2 separate regions of the Homo sapiens genome follow, and region 1 is linked to region 2. The links are contacts of gene promoters, found by promoter capture Hi-C in human tissues and cell types (Jung and others, 2019). All regions are on one chromosome and are shown on one strand. The core of a region is centred on a gene start or on the middle of the fragment in contact, and the rest is flanking DNA. Distances in the headings are between cores, read along the strand shown. Region 1 overlaps TOMM6 (translocase of outer mitochondrial membrane 6). Region 2 holds the start of TRERF1 (transcriptional regulating factor 1).

What was found. The method cuts DNA at HindIII sites, captures the fragments that hold promoters and counts their contacts. A contact is called where the count stands out against the background at its distance.
Region 1: a fragment that was not itself captured here is called in contact with the fragment with the promoter of TRERF1 in region 2 in 1 of the 25 tissues and cell types used here (dorsolateral prefrontal cortex).

The regions. Positions count from the first base shown.
Region 1 is chr6:41,788,796-41,794,952 of GRCh38, forward strand. TOMM6 (translocase of outer mitochondrial membrane 6) reads left to right here. Exons shown (of 3, transcript NM_001382294.1): 2 at 437-541; 3 at 773-1,100. The coding sequence ends at 533. USP49 (ubiquitin specific peptidase 49) reads right to left here. Exons shown (of 8, transcript NM_001286554.2): 8 at 1,101-6,157. Among named protein-coding and RNA genes, the nearest start is that of TOMM6, 4.2 kb to the left of the region's middle. The HindIII fragment of the contact is 3,149 bases long and covers 1-3,101 here.
Region 2 is chr6:42,447,212-42,453,659 of GRCh38, forward strand. TRERF1 (transcriptional regulating factor 1) reads right to left here and starts at 4,715. Exons shown (of 18, transcript NM_001395490.1): 1 at 4,463-4,715; 2 at 3,966-4,050. LOC124900214 (arf-GAP with GTPase, ANK repeat and PH domain-containing protein 2-like) reads left to right here and starts at 5,149. Exons shown (of 4, transcript XM_047419627.1): 1 at 5,149-6,448. The coding sequence starts at 5,610. LOC107986596 (a long non-coding RNA gene) reads left to right here and starts at 5,149. Exons shown (of 5, transcript NR_171668.1): 1 at 5,149-5,414. RefSeq lists silencers at 5,180-5,259, 5,730-6,169. The HindIII fragment of the contact is 3,351 bases long and covers 3,328-6,448 here.

The DNA of each region.
Region 1 (6,157 bases), core at 277-2,776, 660 kb before region 2:
GAGTGTAGTGGCGGACCTCAGCTCACTGCAGCCTCCGCCTCCCGGGTTCAAGCGATTTTCCTGCCTCAGCCTCCCCAGTAGCTGGGATTACAGGCGCGCACCACCACGCCCAGCTAATTTTTGTATTTTTAGTAGAGACGGGGTTTCACCATGTTGGCCAGGCTGGTCTCGAGCTCCTGACTTCGTGATCCGCCTGCCTTGGCCTTCCAAAGTGCTGGGATTACAGGCGTGAACCACCGCGCCCAGCCTGACCTTACACTTACTAGGCACAAAAATGAACTCCAAATTCCCACGTGGGTCTTGAGCAACCTGCCGTCACAACCACGTATCAACGCCTCGGGAAGGTGGTGATGGAAGCCTTTCCCCCCAGTACATTTCGTTAACTGTACAACTGACTCAGTGACCACAGGGTTAATAAAACACATTGTTTTTCCAGGAACTTGATACTAAATTTGGGACTCTTTGCTGCGGGAGTTTGGCTGGCCAGGAACTTGAGTGACATTGACCTCATGGCACCTCAGCCAGGGGTGTAGCCAAGTAGGTAAGCACTGAACTACACCCATGCGTGTCTTAGGAGACCTAGAGACTGGGTGAAGCAATGTTTTCTGTCAAGTATTCATGAAATGTACAAAAGAATGTGATGTAAAACCCTTAACTATTCCTAGTTAAATGTGTTTTCAGATGTTGAAAGGGATTTAAGTATCTCTTACCAGTTTCCCTCCCATACTTTTACAGTTCTAATGCCACCTGTCGTCTTATCATCTGATTGCAGACAAATGGAATCCTGTGCTGAACCCGAATCTTCCAAAAAACAGCCTACAATCTGTGACCACCACAAGATGTGCCCTGATGGCAGCTGAAGTTTGATTCAGATGGGCACTTTTCTTCCCCTTCCCTGCCTAGTTTCCTTTTGTTCCTTGAGTCCACGCAGAATTCCATTCTCTGGTCAGCAGACAGGCTTAAGCTAAAGTATTGCCTCTATTCTGTAAAGTTCTGTACATAGTTCCCAAGCTTCTGCAGGGGGTGATTTTTGCTCTTGTCCTGAGAAATAACAGTGCTGTTTTAAAAAACATTTGAAATAAATACCGCACACAAAGGCAGTCATTTTATTCTTTTAATAAGAAACTTTTGCTTACAAAAACAAGGTGTAAAAAGATTTACAAAAATCATAAAAACATGATTTATATTTCACACTTGAGAGACAAAAACAAGCCCCAAAACATGGATTTTAATGGAGGTGGTTTGCTTCATTTTAAAAGGGAAAAAAAAAAAAGGAAGCTGTAACCATACATTGATGTTAACCTAGCATGAAGTTTATTCTTGAAGAATTTACATTGTTGAGCAATATTAGGGGAAGAAGCCATTTGGTGTTGCATAGCATTTTAGTGCACCAGATGGGTTTTCCAGACACCAGGGAGGCATCATTGCTGGAATAGTGAGGTTTGGTGGCAGAAAGAGGGCAGTGATGTGTAGGGGGAGGCAAAGTGAAGTAAGCCTGGGCAGTGGTCACTAAAGTGACACTGCTGAGGCAGCTGCTTCCTTCAGAAGGAAATGTTTTGTGACCCTAAAATTCATGGTAGTGCTACTGTCCAGGGTTTGGGGGCTCTTTGGAAATGGAGTATGTACGGAACTGGCATGTATAGACTTATATAGCCATAGAAAGAGGTGGATAGAAACAGGTCCACCATGGCAATATTTTTTTCTGGCCAGTTTACTAGGCATTAAAAAAAATACTGCTTTTATGTGCCAAGTCTCTTATGGAACTAGTATGGGATTAAAGGACGTTAATTGGAAAGGAGGGTCAGTATATAAGGACCACAGTGGCCTGTTAAGGATGACAGATGTCTCTAGCAGTTTGTTCACTACTAAAGTTAAACAGGACAAAATAGTCTTTCCTGACCTTGCTGGCATAAATATTAAGAAAATTGTTTGAGAATTAGATTTTTTTAGTATGTATATAAAAACAGCACCATTCTTTGTATAAATCAGATAGATCTTATCTGATAGATGAAGCTAAGACCCTTTGAGTCTACACTGGGTTGACTCTGAGAGGTTTATATCTTATTGGGTATTAAGATAAAGAAGGGTCACATGAGAGCAAAGCTTAGCTTTGAAGCCATCACCTCCCAAATGGTGACCAAGGAGGAAACTTTTAAGCCATAGTATAGATGCTAACCCCCATTTAGACCTGCATCAGATCACTTGCTAAGACAAGAAATACCAGCACCTCCTGTTCTTTATAGGAATGAAACTTAGATCCTTAAAGGCTGCTACCTGATATACTCATGACTGGACAGTTTTGATAAAAACTTCCAAAATTGAAAATCAAAATCCAGCAAGAATTAAGACATGGCAGCTTCCAAAAGCATAATTCAAATTTCATTCAAAATTTACTGTTTTGGCTTCAAGTAAGTGTTTACTGTTGGTTGGGTTTTAAAGCCATAATTATGGTTGAGTAAGGATTCATTTATTTATTTATTAAATTTTTATACATTTTTGAAAAGATTTCAAATCTATGTTTCCCAGGCTGGTCTTGAGCTCCTGGCCTCAAGCAATCCTCCCACCTTGGCCTCCCAAAGTGTTGGGATTACAGGTGCTAGCCAACTGCATCCAGCCAATGTTTCATTTCAACTGGCTTAAATCTTCAAAGTGGTTAAGAATTTAGTAAATAAAACTACTTAATCTACAACTTTCAAAAATTGATGAGTAATCACTAATTCTGTAAATGAAGGAGTTGGACTTCACTATTGCCAAAGCAACATTTTCCCCAAGGAAAGTCAATTTGATATCCTGTCACACTTTTCAGCCCTGGCTAGTTAACACAGTACTATGAAAATCTTTAGCTAGATTTTAAACGAAATATGCCAGCAGAAGTATGGAATGAGTCCACAAAAATGAGTGCCTGCCACAATGCTATAGTAGCTATGGTGTATTTAGTGCAGAGTGTGGGATGAATAAGTACATAGTAATTAAAGTCATAGTCCTGGCCCAACAGAACAGTTACTAAATGTAAGATACAAACTAAACTCACAGTCATATTTAGAAGGCGCTTTTCAGCTTTAGCACTGACTTAAAAAGTCTGAACCACCAGGAAGATGCGTACTTAACTGGTTAAAAAATTAAGTGGCCCTGGAAAGTTTTACCCCAAAGATACAACTTCTTCACTTATTTAGTTCAGTAATGAGGCTGAGGGACCCAATTTTCAAGTGTGCATTTGAGTGGGAAACTTTTAAACACCATATGTTGAAGTTTCATGAGCTCAGTGGAAACCTTAAGGTCAGAGTAAAAGAAACTGGCTGTAAACAGCCCTGCAGTGAAGAGACTGGGTCTTAGCACCTTCCACATTCACTCAGCGCCATCTCAGTCAGCGCCTGCCAGGGAAAGGGCATGGAGAGCTGGGACGGGTGCCTTCTCTTTTGCACCACTCCCTTTGCATATTACACAGTGCACTGGCTTGCCTTACAATCTAAGGTTCACATACAGGGGGTTTTCTATACTGCTTCCGGACATTTTTTGCAAAAGAACATCAGAACCAATGAAGGTACCATTTCAGGAGGAATCATTTTTGTTTGACTTCTGCTATATGTTGCCCAGCATTAGTCATTGTTTTGATAAAGACTAAAAGGCCTTTTCTCAACATTTGTGCTCTCCCAACCACCTGGGAAAGCAACCCTTCCACTCACAAGAGGTAACCTCAGATAGGGATATAGTATTCATTTAAGAAGGGGTAGCCCCCCAGCCTGATTTAAAAAGGCCCAAGTCAATGTATGGAACATGACAAGGGAAGTGAAAAACAATGGAGTACACAGTCTGCCTTGAAAAGCAGCCATTTGATGAACAGTCACAAATACAAAGAATTTGGACATTGTAACATAATTTCAGAACTTGCTGGTAAGAATAATTTGCATTCACACACAAGAGACATGAAATGCTTTTTAAAAGTCTGTGATACCAGATGTCCTTTAAACACTACACAGACCCATTTGCCACTTGAAATGACAAGAAGAAATCCTTTCCCTTAATCTTTTCAATTCCATGCAAACCGTAATTGAGTACAAGGCACCAAATTTTATGAATTGTATAAAATTAGTTCACAAAGCTTTATCAGTAAGTAGAACAAACTCCATTTCTCCCTCCCGGCCAGCCCACCCTCCTCCCACCCACCACCCGCCATCCCCGACCAAGTTTTCATTCTGCACTACTGTCGACCTCTCTAGGGCTTATGCTGGGGCATGCCCCACTGTCAGCCAATCCACCTCATTGGTTCTTCCCTTGTACTTGGATGAAGCTGTAAGCACAGCCAGAGTAGCAAACTCATACAATCATTGACTCTAGAAGCCTTGCCATTAAAAACAAAAATAAACTCTGCTATTGAGTCCATAGGACACATTAACACTTCTACAGTTTCCAATTTTATTCATGACATTTTAAGAGACATCTGGAAATTCTTTTTTTTTTTTTGTTTTTGTTTTTGTTTTTTTTTTAAGACAGAGTCTCGCTCTGTCGCCAGGCTGGAGTGCAGTGGCACGATCTCGGCTCACTGCCCCTTCTGCCTCCTGGGTTCCAGCGATTCTCCTGCCTCAGCCTCCCAAGTAGCTGGGACTACAGGCACGTGCCACCATGCCCAGCTAATTTTTGTATTTTTAGTAGAGACGGAGTTTCACCATGTTGGCCAGGATGATCTCAATCTCTTGACCTTGTGATCCGCCCTCCTCGGCCTCCCAAAGTGCTGGGATTACAGGCATGAGCCACCGCGCCCAGCCTGGAAATTCTTTACAGTGTAGCACTGCCCCCCAACCCTGCCCCATAACTCCGAGACTGAGGGGCTGGATCAAAGCTGGCAAGAGCTCTGTCCACCATTTAATAAGAGCTTCAGTTCTGCCAAGGGCATTCCTAACTATTTTTATACTAGCATGGATGTTCGTCTCAGAGGCAACCACAGATATGAGGGTCAGGCTAGATTGAGGTAAAAAAAAATCCTTTTTGAGGGCCTAGGTGCACTCATCTTGGCTGGCTACAGCAGCAAGTAAACATGCCAGCCAACTAACTACAAAGGGTTCCTGGAATGAGACTCTTAACTACTTGCCCTGGGAGAGAAGCAGGCCCATTAAGGTTCGGTTAGGAGACCTTGGGTTTGATTTGGCAGCATCTAGTCAGTTTTTACCTGGTTCTTATTTTCTTCTCTTTAGAATGATTCAATTTCAGATGCAACTGAGACATTCATCTATACCCAGTACGTAAATAAATTAAAGGCAAAGGGACATTTCCCTCACAATAGCCATTGGCTTATGCAGCAGGGAACTCTTCTTTAATAAAAATCTCCTTAAATACTAACGTCCTAAGTGTCCAGTGCTGCCGCCTCTGGGTACCTGAGGTGTCTGTAACTGCAGTGGGCACCTTTCACAAATGTGTAGCTCAGTGGAGACTCTGATGTTAGTTTCTTTTATTACTTTGATATATGCGTGCTCAGCTAAGTTAAGCACTTATTTCACAAAGTCCTTAATCTGCTTAATAAATCCTTATAATATTTGGTATAAAACTATTTTTAAAAATTAAATTGGAAGATCTTTGAATTTTCCATTAAATGTTTATTAATAATTATCCCCACTGGACAGCCTGAGGGGTAAAGTAGATGCTCTATTAGTTCTTCTCTATCTTGTAAGTTCTTTTTTTCTAGAATAATAAATATAGGATTCAATGAAAGATGAGGCACGATTCATAGTTTCCTTTCCTTTTTACTCTCCTTGGTTTTTTTGAGTTAATGGGCTTTTCTATTGCCACAAAAAGTCATTACTAATCATGCCGACTTAAAAACGTGGATCTTGAGAGTACAGCTTCACATCAGAGCCTCTGGCAGCATGGACAGCGGTGACACTTTAAAACAGTGTCCAGGAGAGGGTGAGCCCAGGCAAAGCTTATACAAAGAAGCCTGCAGTAGACAATATAAACCAAACAGCATAAAAAATGCCATACGCTATCGCTTCCAAATAAAAGCTAAATATTACAGAAACCTCACAGTGTTGGAAAAAGCAAGTTTAATTTAAAATATAGTCACTCCTTCCCTATCAGGGTGAGCCATTTTTTGTCTGAATTTCCTCCATGTCTCAGTGCTGCCTGGCAGGGCCTATGGGAGAGTTCATCTCAAAAGAGGTCAACA
Region 2 (6,448 bases), core at 3,465-5,964:
TTTCTTCAGTAAACCAAATTACTACAAGCAGCTACTCTGAGAACTTAAAATTCTTAGAAAATATCACAGAGGCTTTTTGTTGTGTGTTTTCTTTAGCCCAGAAGAAAAGATTTATTAAGAGAGCCCTGGGGTCAAACTCATGTTACTGAGACTATATTATTCCTTAAAAATGCCCACAGCACCCTTGTGGCAACGCACGCCAGTAACTGGAATCCAGCTGTTCTTGTCCTCCTCTCTCCACAAAAGAAATCAACTATTCGTTAGTTCTCCTTTATTTTACTGGTTTCCCTTCAACATGCAAATTCAGAAATATCATTAATCCACAAGATCCCAGATGATTTTAATCCTTCCTCCTCCCTCAGCCACACAGTTTTATGAGGTCGGAAATAAAATGAGCTGAATTCAACCGCCTTTAGAGCAGGACCATGAGCACCATTTATACCGCCTGGGGTATAAGCCACTTGCCTAGATCCTTACTTTTCTTTTTTGTTGTTGTTGTTTTTGTTTTTTTGAGACAGAGTCTCGCTCTGTCACCCAGGCTGGAGTGCAATGGCATGATCTCGGCTCACTGCAACCTCTGCCTCCCAGGTTCAAGCACTTCTCATGCCTCATCCTCCCAAGTAACTGGGATTACAGACCCCCACCATCATGCCCAGCTAATTTTTGTATTTTTGTAGAGACGGGGTTTCACCATGTTGGCCAGGCTGGTCTTGAACTCCTGACCTCAGGTGATCCGCCTGCCTCGGCCTCCCAAAGTGCTGGGATTACAGGCATGAGCCACCGCGCCCAGCCCTAAATCCTTACTTTTCATGGCAATGTCCAAAGTCAATAAAAACATCAAGAGCTTCTCCCAAAAATGCCCATAGTGAAATACAGAGAATCCTGGTGATAAAAATGATACTATATCATTATTATGAACCTTATCACAAATATTCAGCCAAATCCCAATTACCCACAGAAAGCAGGCAAAGCCACACTGGGCTTTCTGGTCTCCAGTTTCTCCCCAAAGCTATCTCCTCCTGCTGCCTGGGAATAAGAGCTTGGTTAACCTTAGACTTGACCAAGGATTAGACAAGTTAACCAACTGGCTGGAGAAGAAACTTCTAAGATGAACAGAAATTATTTTTGGTACCTAGGATATGTACATGCTGCACTCTCTGTTAGTGCATAGAATTGAGAATTTTTTGTCCAAGACACTGGCAGACATTTATTCATAAGTATTTCCTTGTGTTTGATGGTCAAGATCACCAGGCCACTCAAGAGACCTTTCTGGAATACCAAGGATCAAATCCACTTTCTCCATGAGAAGACAAAAACAGAAGTTAATCAGCTCACCCAAGTCCATGAAGCAATTGGCCGTTGGCTCAGGAAGAGACTGTCAAGACCTCTGGAGACCTCGCTTACAAGACACAGAATTTCAGAGCCGGAAGGGAACTCACGGATCAAACCACGCACTTTTAAGATAAAAAATCCAAAGCCCAGAAATGGCTAGAAATTGGTACCTTCCCCACCTTTCTTTCCAGTGATGTTTCCCCTAGCCTTGAGCATCAAACTACTTTAAGTTCTTTGTCACTTTACCAATACTGTAAACTTAAGCCAACTATTGAACACAAGACAATTTTAACACTTCCTGGCTAATCAGCTTCACAGAGAATCCTTACATTTGTCAAAAAAATAACGCTTTCGGTTATTATAACCAACCCACCCATTAAAGAAGGAGAAAAAGAAAATCATAAACAAGCTTTATTTTTTGTGACCACACATTTTATTATACAAGCAGCAAAGAACACTGCAGTCTGTCTCCTCTTTTACACTTTAAGTTCCTAACTCAACAAAAACCACAGGCCCAAGCCGGTTATAGGAGGCAAAACTGAGTACTTTCCACACAGTTCATAGAACAACTGTTTTCACAGCAAGCTCACATAAATGCTATGTGATAATAACACATGCCTGCTATGTGGAAGCCTGCTTACCAAGCTGTGAAAAGACCCATGTTTACTATGGAACCTGCAAAATTAATCTTCTCATACAGCAGAAGGGAAATGCTCTTTTTGGGATGTCAAGCTGGCTTCTAAACAATCCTTTGGCGAAAATGGACATGCCTAAAAGGGCGGAGCCCAGAGAGGTGTGTCACTCCGGGTATCAATTCCTATAAATCAGATCCTGACAATCACCACAATATTTTAAAAAGAACGAATTATGATTCATGGGCCTTCAAGCCTTTATTACCGCAAGAACATTCTCGGTAGAAGAGGAAAAAAAAAAAAAACTACTGTGACTTGATTAATGGCCAAAGCAAGACAATAAAATAAATCTCATAAATATAAGGAAAAAAACCTGAATGACTGCTCTTGGCTCTGAGGCTAGGCATGTAAATAATTCCACCCTGGAATGAACATACATAAAGATTTTGTTTACCCTCCCAGCAAATACAACAACCAGACTCAGATTTTCATCAGGTAAAAATAATAGCTAATTTGCTTAACTAATGCCTAGTTAGGAACATTTGATAAGCAGCAATAATATTTAATTCCCAACTAACTCAACTCTCAAACTGCCAAATATCAACCCTCAATCTGGAAATCTGACGACAGTTAGGAAAGAAAAAAAGCACTCTCCATCAGCAATGTGTAGCGAGTTTTTTAAAACCCATTTTTCTCGACCCTGCTAGAACAGAGCCTGTCTACAGAATTGCAGAAAGCTTAACCAACCTCAGTTAACCCCACTGCCTAGTGGCTACTCCCTAACCCTACTAAACGTCTCCGGGTTGGACCCGAGATGCTAAAATTATCCTAGCAAAGTTAAAACTCCCAGCATCATCAAGGTAGCTGACAGCTAAGACCTACAACTCTTCTGCAGAAACCAGTAGGCTGAGGACCAAGAAAACAGAGGCAAGGAGAGGCAAAGGCTGCTGGTTAACTAGTTAAGCACTGAGGACTCCTGCTGTTATCCTCTCCAGTCAGTGAGCATCAACACCACACTTCCTATCGCCAAACTCCTTTCTTAAAAGGGTCAGTGATGCAGAAGGTGGGTGCTAACTGGGACAACTTAAAACTCCCCTTCTTAAAACTCTCCTCAATGACCTGCTGAAAAGTGCACCTGGACCGGTTTTCAGGAGATATTTTTTAATGAACTCTTTAGCCACTACAGGGGCGGTCATTCCTAAGCACGACTTCCACGCACTCACAAGACAGCCCAGGCCATGCTGAATTGAAGCCATCCCCTTCAGTACTGGCACTTGCCAAAGCTGCGTCTAGTCTGGGGAAGAGTTTCCACAAAGCTGGCTCTAACAGGCCGGTAGAAGACACACGGAGGAACCAGAAAGCGTTTTCTTGTAACCTAAGGATGGCAGGCGCACATGCTCCAGTCCAGTGCTGGCCAGAGGCTGCCTGCCAGGTGCTCTCGGCCTCCGCTGGTGAAGGAGTGGTTTGGTTGGTTTTTAATATCTGTTTCTTAAGACCACCGGCAGTAACTTCCCAGTCTCCCAAACTGAAGTTGGGGAGTGAAGGAACAGGTTTACCCCCTTACACATTTCTCCCATCTGGGTGGCCACACTAACTTCTGGGGAGTACCCAGCCCCCACAGAGCCCGCAGGCGCGTATACATACACATATGTATCATGTCAAAAACCCCAAAAGGCAGAGTCCTGCGGTTTCTTAGCTGGAGAATGAAGCCTTTATAACATCACAACCTCAAATGCAAGCCCACCATCACTACCTTTAAGCCAGGGTTGCCAATTATAGCGCCCACCTCATCCCTCCCCCTTTGCTGGGATGCTGTGCAGCCCGGAGAGGGAAGAAGGGAAGAAGGGAGAAGGCCTGCTTGCATAGTGAAAGTAAAGGGGGGGGAGACTTCTCCTTCTGTCTCCCCACTCTTCCCTCCCCACTTCGCCCCACCCCCGTCTTCTCGAGGAGCATCCCCAAACTAATTTTTTAAAAATGAAACTTAATAAGCTTCTTGCCTACCTTGGCTGTTTCTGCAACAAGTGCATGGGCAATCCGACGAGAAGACCAGTATCCGCTTGGGGGGTGAGATGGGGGGCGAGCAGAGCTGATGGAGTAATTTCAATATTAATTTATGTCAGCCGCCTTCTCTCAGCGCTACTCACTTACTGTACTGCCCTCAGCCTGTAAACAAATATCGCTCCGCCAGGAAACATACTCCCCAGATGCAAGCCCCTCTCCCCAGCAGGGAACCTGGCCCCTCGTCCCCCCGACAAGAGTGTGCTCCCCCACCCAGGGTAGGAAGCTTTGGGTTTCCAAAGCACCAACCCACCACCTCCTCCACCACCCCAGCAAGAAACTTACTCGGTCCGTCTACGCCTCCACCCTCCCTTCAGGAAATCTACTCTCCATATGCATTCAGCCTCCCCGCAGGAAATCTGCTCCCCCCTCCCCCCTTCTATATACATGCACCCCTCCCTCTCCTCCTCCCCATGCGCCCTCCCCGGCCAGAAACTTACTAGTGAGCAAGCGTGCAGGCTCTCCTGATGCTGGAAACTTACTCCCAGATATAGCGCCCGCCAGCCCCCTTTCCCAGCCCTGCTCCCCTTCCTGCCCTCCGCCGCAAGCAACTCCAAACTCTCCGCATCCAGCCGTTCTCCCTCCCCAGTGGAAATTTGCAGCGCCGGGCTGCGCGCGTGCATCCACCCTCCCCTTCAGGAAACTTACTCCCCATCTGCATGCACCGCCTCTCAGCCATCGCTTAGAGGGAAGGGGGTGTGCTGGGGAGACAGAAATACATATGTATCTCTCGCCCCTCCCCCGGTCGCAGCCCACTCGGGGCCGAGCCGCGGTAACCTGGCCTTACCTTTGCATTGCTCCCCATCCTCGCCCCCTCCCTTAACCCTCCTTATCCGCTCCCCGGTACCCCCCTTTTTTCACCCATTACCCACCCCTAGCAACCGTTCCCAAGCTCCTCTCGGCCTTTTTTTTTTTTTTAAATCCAGGATGCAAATTCCTCCCTTGTCAGCAAATCGACTGTCAAATTATTTTCTTGCAAAAGGAGAAAGGCGGGGTGGGGGGGGGGAGCAGGAGCAAAAAGAGGGGGAGGGCGGGGGAAGGGAGGGGGAAGGGAGGGAGAGGGACCGAGGAGGGGAGATATCCCTCCGCAGAGCTGGGTCTGGCCGCGGGCGGGGAAGCAGGAAGTAAGGTGTCCAGCGCCGCGACCGGCTGGTCGTCCGCCTCGGCCCCCGCCCGCGTCCCCTTTCCCCCGGGGCGCAGCGCTACGGCGGGCGCGGGCCGCCCGGCGCATTGTTCGCAGCCTTCGCGGCGGTGCGCTGCTGACTTTATTTGTGCGCTTTGCGTGTGCGTGAGGTTGCACCTTTTGTAGGCTGGCGAGTCTCTGGACGAGGATGGGACGGGGGACACGGGCCCAGTTGCGGCCCTGCGCGAGCGGGACCTGTCAGCCCTGAGGTGCAGCGGACCCTCCGGCATGGCCGGAAAATCGAGGCCGGGGAGAAGGCAGCGTGGCCGGGAAGCTGCCGCCTTAAACCCGGACCAGTGCAGGATTGCTTCCTGCGTAGCCGTCCCGGTTATTGTAACACGCTTTGCAAGCTAACGACTGGGGTTTGTGAGGGGGTTTGTTTATTTTTCTAAGTGTTTGCAAAGATGCCGAGGTCGAGGCGGGCTGCGAGGAGACGGTCCGCGCCTACCCCCACCGCACCCTGGCCTCGGTGGGGCTGGGAGAGGGCTGGGGCTCCGGAGAAGGGGCTGGAGGTTCGCGAAGCGCGCGTCTCCATCCCTCCGCCCCGATGGGGGCGGGGAAGGGGTGCAGTAGACCGCGCTGGAAGAGCAGCTCTCTGGGGAGGGGTCTCCCTTGCCGCGGCAGGCGCAGCAGGCCGGGGAGGGGGGTTGCCTAGGAGAGGGGCCGGGCGGCGGAGGGGAGGGGAGGAGAGGGGGCGCGGGTGCAGCCGCCGCGCGCGCTCGCCCCTCCTCGCGCGCCATGACTGTGGAACGTGGTGCCGGGGAGGAGGGACGGCCACCGGGGGCCGCCCGGGGCTGCTCGGCATTGGTGCGGAAACCCGAGCCCGGAGTCGCTCCCTCGCGCTGTCTCCTCCTCCTCCTCTGCGGGGGAAACCGCTGCACCCAAACCGGGAGCAGCTGCGAGCAGGGGGCAGGGCGCGGGCTGAAAGGCGAGCCGAAGGTTCAAACCTCCGCGGCGCGGGCGGGGGCGGAGGGCAACAGCAGGACGGCCCCCAGGTCCCGAGAAGGCGTGGCAGTGGTCGGCCCAGGTGTCAGGGAACCTGGCCTGAGACCCCTGCATTTCCAAGCTTCTTTCCTGGTCAGAGGAAACGTGAACCAAAGGTAGTTCAGCTAAACAGACCACCTCGAGCCGGGTTCGAGGCATCTGTCTCGAGGGCAAGACAGTATTTTTTGCACGACAGAAAGTTACACCATCCATTTTTTTCCGTGGGGGAAATCATTGCGCCCCTTCCCCCAAAATGTCG